Linked DNA regions of Homo sapiens: region 1 is linked to region 2. Evidence: promoter capture Hi-C in 16 types of primary human blood cells and fetal thymus (Javierre and others, 2016). All regions are on one chromosome and are shown on one strand. The core of a region is centred on a gene start or on the middle of the fragment in contact, and the rest is flanking DNA. Distances in the headings are between cores, read along the strand shown.

Evidence for each region. The method cuts DNA at HindIII sites, captures the fragments that hold promoters and counts their contacts. A CHiCAGO score of 5 or more calls a contact.
Region 1: a fragment that was not itself captured here is called in contact with the fragment with the promoter of PCSK7 in region 2 in 1 of 17 cell types (fetal thymus); the score reaches 5.9 in fetal thymus.

Annotation. Positions count from the first base shown.
Region 1 is chr11:116,703,464-116,706,781 of GRCh38, reverse strand. No RefSeq gene overlaps it. Among named protein-coding and RNA genes, the nearest start is that of LINC02702, 66 kb to the right of the region's middle. The HindIII fragment of the contact is 1,411 bases long and covers 699-2,109 here.
Region 2 is chr11:117,230,807-117,234,012 of GRCh38, reverse strand. It overlaps PCSK7 (proprotein convertase subtilisin/kexin type 7), which reads left to right and starts at 1,940. Exons shown (of 17, transcript NM_004716.4): 1 at 1,940-1,986. It overlaps RNF214 (ring finger protein 214), which reads right to left and starts at 1,342. Exons shown (of 15, transcript NM_207343.4): 1 at 1,287-1,342. RefSeq lists silencers at 1,203-1,542, 1,753-1,902 and enhancers at 2,093-2,142, 3,012-3,206. The HindIII fragment of the contact is 17,537 bases long and covers 1-3,206 here.

The DNA of each region.
Region 1 (3,318 bases), core at 155-2,654, 530 kb after region 2:
ATTCCCCTGCCTCAGCCTCCCAAGTAGCTGGGATTTCGGGTGCCTGCCACCATGCCTGACTAATTTTTTGTATTATTAGTAGAGATGGGGTTTCACTATGTTGGCCAGGCTGGTCTGGAACTCCTGACCTTAGGTGAACTACCTGCCTCGGCCTCCCAAAGTGCTGGGATTATAGTCATGAGCCACTGCGCCTGGCCGTCCCTTCCCTTTCAAGCAGGAAAATCTAAAATTCCATGAACAGTAGGGTCAGATACCCACAAGTCATGGTAGGGACAAGAAGAGTTGGGTAGTTCTATGGGATCAAAGAATCTAGTTTAAAAAAAAAGGTGTTCTCTGTGTGTATGTCATGATTTAATCCTACTGGTTTATGCTCGGGTTAAATCCCCACTAACCTTAGGGTATGTGAGGTGTTTCTCTGGAGCACAAGACTGGCTGTTTCAAACACTTGGTCATTTGCTGGGGCCAGATGCTTTGGCCTCTGGTGCAAGGCCTTTCCGAATCCCGCCTCAGTCTACCTTCACAGCTTTATTTCCCCCTGCTCCTGCCCCAGCCCCTCAAGTCAGGCTACCTAGGCCCACCAACTTCTGTTCTGCAGCTGTGCCTGGGACCTCAGTGCCCTTTTCCAGCCCAGAACTTGGCTTGCCTCAATCTACTTATGCTTCTAGGCCTGGCTCCAGTGGGACTTCTTCCGTGAAGCTTTCTTTGATTATCCAGCCCTTCCTGATTCTTCCCGAGCAACGAATGACTCCCTTTCCTGTGCTTCACTGCCTTTGGCAGGTCCTTTGTGACAACCTGAGGCCTCGTGGTATGGTTTCAAAGCTGCTCCTGGAACCCTTCCTCACTAGCTTGTGAGCTCTCGAAGGCCTGGGTCTGGGTCTTACTCATCTATGACCTGCTCCCTCCCCCAGCATCATTCCCTCACCCAGGAGCTGCTCCAGGATTGAAAGGAGATAGTGTACGTGAAATTGTTTTGTAAAATACAGCACAATGCAATATTGCTACTGCTAAAACTGAAAAGAGTTTATTGAATCAAAACCCTAGGAAATAAAGGAAGCTCATCTTAACAACCCCCTACTTCTACATTATTTTCATTAACCATGTAAAATTACAATAATAACAATAGCTAACATGTATTGACCTTTTGTGCCCAATAAATATGGTCATTATTATAATAAGCATACAGACATGTGTACATGCTACATACACCTTTCAATTTCTGCACATTAAGAAGTGATCGGCTGGGCACAGTGGCTCATGCCTGTAATCCCAGCACTTTGGGAGGCGGAGGTGGGCAGATCACCTGAGGTCAGGAGTTCGAGACCAGCCTGGCTAGTGTGGTGAAACCCCTTCTCTACTAAAAATGCAAAAATGAGCTGGGCATGGTGGTGGGTGCCTGTAATCCCAGCTACTCGGGAGGCTGAGGCAGGAGAATCACTTGAGCTGGAGAGATGGAGGTTGCAATGAGCCGAGATTGCGCCACTGCACTCCAGCCTGGGTGACAAGAGCGAGACTCCGTCTCAAAAAAAAAAAAAAGTGATTATTAAGACAATATTGAAAATAATGCCACGAATCTTCAAATGTGCTTCAAGAGATTCTCAACCAAATGTCCTCCACAAGTGTCTCTGTGACCTCCTGTTCTCAAGGGCCTATGTGGATGGAGTCTATGGCTGTGAGGTGTCCCGGCCAGGTCAGGAGCTGACCCCCGGCCTAGCAAGATACTCCGTGCTTCTTACAACATTTCCTGCCTTCCTAGAGCAGTACCCAGAAGGCATCTTGTCCTTGTCTTGTGGGGTGGTGGGTGGCGCACCTCGTGGGGCATGCTCATGGTGGGCACCACACATGGGCGTCTTAAAGAGGAGTGTGTGTCTCTGTAAGGCTATCATAAGCGTTTTTATTTCAAGTCTGAGTGACACATTTTTGTCCTTTTGGCATTTATGGAGGATAGAAAAAACTGCTCTGAGTAAATAAACAGAGAAGAAGAAAGGCCTCCCTCCATGATGGGCCTGGTTTACGAGGCAACAAGCCTGGGGGGTCTTTGTTAGGGTTTAGTGATTTGGTTCCAGCACTGAATGGAAGCACAATCTTGTTTTTGAGTCGTTTCAGAAAGCTTGGGCTCCTCAGCTTCTGAGTTGTAACATTTGGAGGTTGTGATCTGCATTTTGGGTATGTGTCTGGGGGTGTCCCTGTGAGTACACAGGTGGGCATAGGTGTGTCAGGGAGATATGGGTCTGTGCATGCATGCGGTGAATGGAGTACATGCCCCACCTGAGCAGTGTCTGTACAGTAGGGGGGTGCGTATAGATAAGGTGATTGGGGTGAATGTGGATCTTTCTGGGTGTCAATCTTATATACTATGTGTGAATAAGCATTTATATGCAGGAGTCTTTTTTTTTTTTTTTTTTTTTTGAGACAGAGTCTGGCTCTGTTGCCCAGGCTGGAGTGCCATGGCGCGATCTCGGCTCACTGCAACCTCCACCTCTCAGGTTCAAGCAATTCTACTGCCTCAGCCTCTCGAGTAGCTGGGAGTACAGGCTCAAGCCATCACGCCCAGATAATTTTTGTAATTTTAGTAGAGACGGGGTTTCACTATGTTGGCCAGGCTGGTCTGGAACTCCTGACCTCAAGTGATGCCCCCACCTCTGCCTCCCAAATTGCTGGGATTACAGGCATGAGCCACCGCACCCAGCCCCAGGGGTCTGTATTTTTGTCATCGAATGTTGTTAGTGCCTTGGAAGCTCCCTGTGCCACCCCAACCCCCAACTATGACCCTTCCTTCATTGCCCCTGAGTTAACCACTCTCCTAACTTTTGTGTGAATCATTCCCCTCCTTTGTGTTATGGCTGTGCCACTTTCATGTGTCTCCTTGGTGAAAATGGGTCCACAGATGTGAAGCTGGGATGTATTTGGTGTGAATGCGGGTCTGAGTTGTGTTCACAGTGGAGCCTGGATGTGCTCTGCTCAGCGAGTGCCTCTGTTTGGGTGGATGGGTGGCAGAGGGTTGGGGAAGAGCGGTTGGGCTCTTCAGACAGGTCCCCGTGAACTTTGCATACCCAGCTCCTGTGGCTCCTTCTGGCTCGGTTGCCACCTCTGGTCCCTAGTGGTTCTGCCTTGCTGGTCTGCAGAGAGATCAACACCCTTCAAACCAGCTGCCTTGTTGGCTGCGGCGCACTCCCGCGGTTACCATGGAAACCAAAGTAGGTCTGCTTCTGCCTGCCATCGGGTCCCTGGGCTAGGGCAGCTGTGGGCCAAAGCCACCGTGGTGAAAGCTGGCTGTGGGGGAAGGGAAGAGGGGCCTGGGGGACCCTCTGAGCCTGCTTC
Region 2 (3,206 bases), core at 691-3,190:
ACTTTTGGCAGAAATGTAGTCATTTCAAACAATACATCTTAGTCTGCCAGGATCTTCCAAGTGGTCCCAGGCCTACCTTGTCTGCTATCATTTTTAATAAAAGACGTACTTTTCGGCCTAGTATCAATCAGATCTCATGTTTTTAAATCACTTTATGGCTGTTACATTCAAAGCATTCTCCATTAATTTAAGGGAAGTTTTTGGAGGTGTCTGCCTGTAAGTCAACAAGTAATGCAATACTGGGCAATCCAGGGTGCATATTTTACTGTCAGCGTGCTCCCCACAGATGGGAAAGGCCTGATACCCACTAACTGAGCAAAGAACAGACTCTTCAGAGTGACTAGTGGTGCAAAAAAGAATCCTGGGTTCTCTAGCGTGAAAAAGTCAAGGTAAAAAACATGGTAACACAAGTAAGGGAACTGGGACGGACGCCTTTTTTAAAAATCAAAAGGTCATCTTTTATGCCGCAGAGCAAACTTATGACCTTATGAGGAGAAAAGAAAATCAAAATACTTGGGAGGTGGGGATGAACATCGGGTTAGTTTGCATTCTTGCTTTTATTTTAACAGCATCACACGTATTCCCCCCCGGAACACTGAAGAGCGCATAGGGCAGATAGGTAGATGGGGCTGTGTCAACACCTCAGTCACAGCCCACAGACCCTCTGTGCCTCAGTTTCCCTCATTATACAAAGCTCCTGGGAGAAAATGGGCCCAAACCGCCATTGCTGCTCCCTCAGGTGCAAACATCCCGTCTCCAACATAGCCCAGGGCTGGGGGGTCCTCTGCGCCCGGTGAACGAAACCCCAGGACAAGGGCCATGCATGCAACTCCGTGGCTAGAGAGCCCGTGGCGCGGGTAGGAACAGCTGGCTGGAGGGTCGAGTGTACCAAAAAGAACTCCGCAACCCGGGGCGACCACCAGCGAAGCAGGGGCGCCGGAGCCACGGGTCCTCGGGCGAGAACAGGGGACAGACGGGAAGGGGACAATGGGGGGAAGCGGCGCTGGGTGGCCTTGGCCACCCCCCACAGGGGACTGCTAGGCTGGCCGCTGGCTCGGACCAGACCCCCCTCCACCCCTTCCCCTCGGTCCCCCCACCCCGCTGCCAGCCACCCCCCCGTCCCACTTCTAGGCCGGGACCCCCGCCTCGGTTCTCACAGCACCCTCCACGCCCCCCACCCGACCCCCATGCCCGGCCCTCGCCCCGCAACCCCCACCCACGCTCGCCCCGCACACACCTCCCGCGCCGCGCCCCCGGGAGGAAAGTGGGGGAGGGACGGGACGCACCTGAGCGGGCGGAGCGGGGGGAGGGGGCGGCCGAGCCACGGGGGGAGGGGTCGAGCGCCGGCCCGCGCGCGGCACCTCCCACTTCCGGCGGCACGAGCGGAGGGGGCGAGGCTCCGGCCGCGAGAGGAGAGGCCGCGGTGGCGCCGCGCCGCCCCCGACGGCGCCCTCTGGCGGCGACAGCTGGCGCCGCCGGGGCACGGGGATGCTGCGGGAGACCCCTGAGATACAAGTGGACTCTCCCGGGGCGCGGGGAAGAAGGGAGAGCCGACTGCGAGAAGGAAGGCGACCTGGGTGGGCAGGATCCCCTCTGGGAAGATTACAGGGACAGTCGGGGCCATGGCGGTCAGAAGGAGAAGAGCAACGAGTGGCTTTTAAAGGTCGGAACCGAAATGCCCTTTACAGAGGACGCCATGAAGGAGAGCCTTCTGAAGAGGGACCATGTGGAAGATGCCCCGAGGACTCGGGGAGGCGGAGCCCGCGGGTTCAGCCCCCAGCGCCCGCACGGCCCCTGCCTGCGTAGGCCGCCCGCGGGAGCCGGACCCCGGGCGCCGGTTGCTGTGGCCCGCGGGGGTCGCCGGGCCGCAGGCGCCGCGCTGATTGGCTGCGCCGCGGGCGGAAGTGATGCTGCTGTCACTGCTCCTCCGGCTCCCGGGAAGCCGCGAGTTTCCGCAGGGAGGCGGCGGCAGCTGCGGCGGGGCCGGTGAGTTGGGAACTAGGTGTGGGGCTGGACCTGGGTGGTCAGGGGGCCCCAGAAGTGGGGGAAGCCGGCGTCTGAGGATGAGGGAGCTGCACAGAGGGTGCCTGAGGTCCTGGCGTGGGGGACCAAGGAGATGGGGCCCCAGGGCCCAGAATTCCTGGATAATGTGGGTGCTAATGAGGAGAGGGGCACATTGCACGGAGCGATCGAGGCCGACGGAGGGAGAATCGGGAAACTGACCCGGTACCCAAGCTGGCTTCTAGGAGCCGGGTGTGGAACAGCGAGGACAGTAGCTTGGGAGCAGGATCTTGGACTCCAGGCTGCCCATTCTCTTCTTCCTTGTCAATTAAGAGCTGTAAAGGGAGGCCTAGCCGTTGGGAGAGGTTGAGACCTGCTTTCAGAAGGCATTTAAGGTTCCTTTCCCAGAAGCCTGGGGGATAAAAATGCTGCTTTGCCACTAGTAGACAGAAGGAGCTCCTGCTTCTCTTTCTTCCTGACATCTGTGGTGGGATCTACTGAGTCTGAAGGAGTCTGCCTAGCGGGGCCACTGTCTGGCTAACAAGGGTTTTGTTTGTTAGTTTGTTTACTTAGTAGAGTATGCAGACTGGGGAAGACACCTAAATATCTTGGGAGAATTGAGGCTCCCGGGGGCAGGGAGGGATTGAGAGGGAATATGCCTGGAAACCTAAGAGAAAACGAGAGGAAGAAATGTAGTATGAAGATTTTTAGAGGTAAAGGAGAGGTGGCATAAGTTCTCCTTTCCAGGAAGCCTTTCAGTAAAATTCCCATTTTTCTGGAATGCTTTGAGGTAGAGCCGCTTGGGTGTGTATCTGAGTACTAAGCCCTGCCCCAGGGTGGACCCAGTGGAGAGCAAAGGCTTTTAAAGGAGCCCAGCCACCATAGGTACACACATGTCCTGCCACCCCATTTGTCTGTCCCCCAGTTCTAACTTGGCTCTTTTTTTTTTTTTTTGAGGGCTCCTGAGACCAATTCCCTGGTTCTGTCAAACCCAGGCAATTGGAGTCCCAGTCTGGAGTCTGAGTCCTCACCTTGAAGCCAGCCTCCTGAGCTCAGTACAGGAGTAGCTGCTTAGTGAGGTTCTCTCATCATTCGTTCTCTCCTGGTTGCCCGCTTGTCCTTGGTGCCTGTTCTGTTTTGTTTGCACTCTCTGGCTTTCCCCGTTTCGCCCCCGCCGCCTCCCTCCTTTCACTTTCCCTGGTATC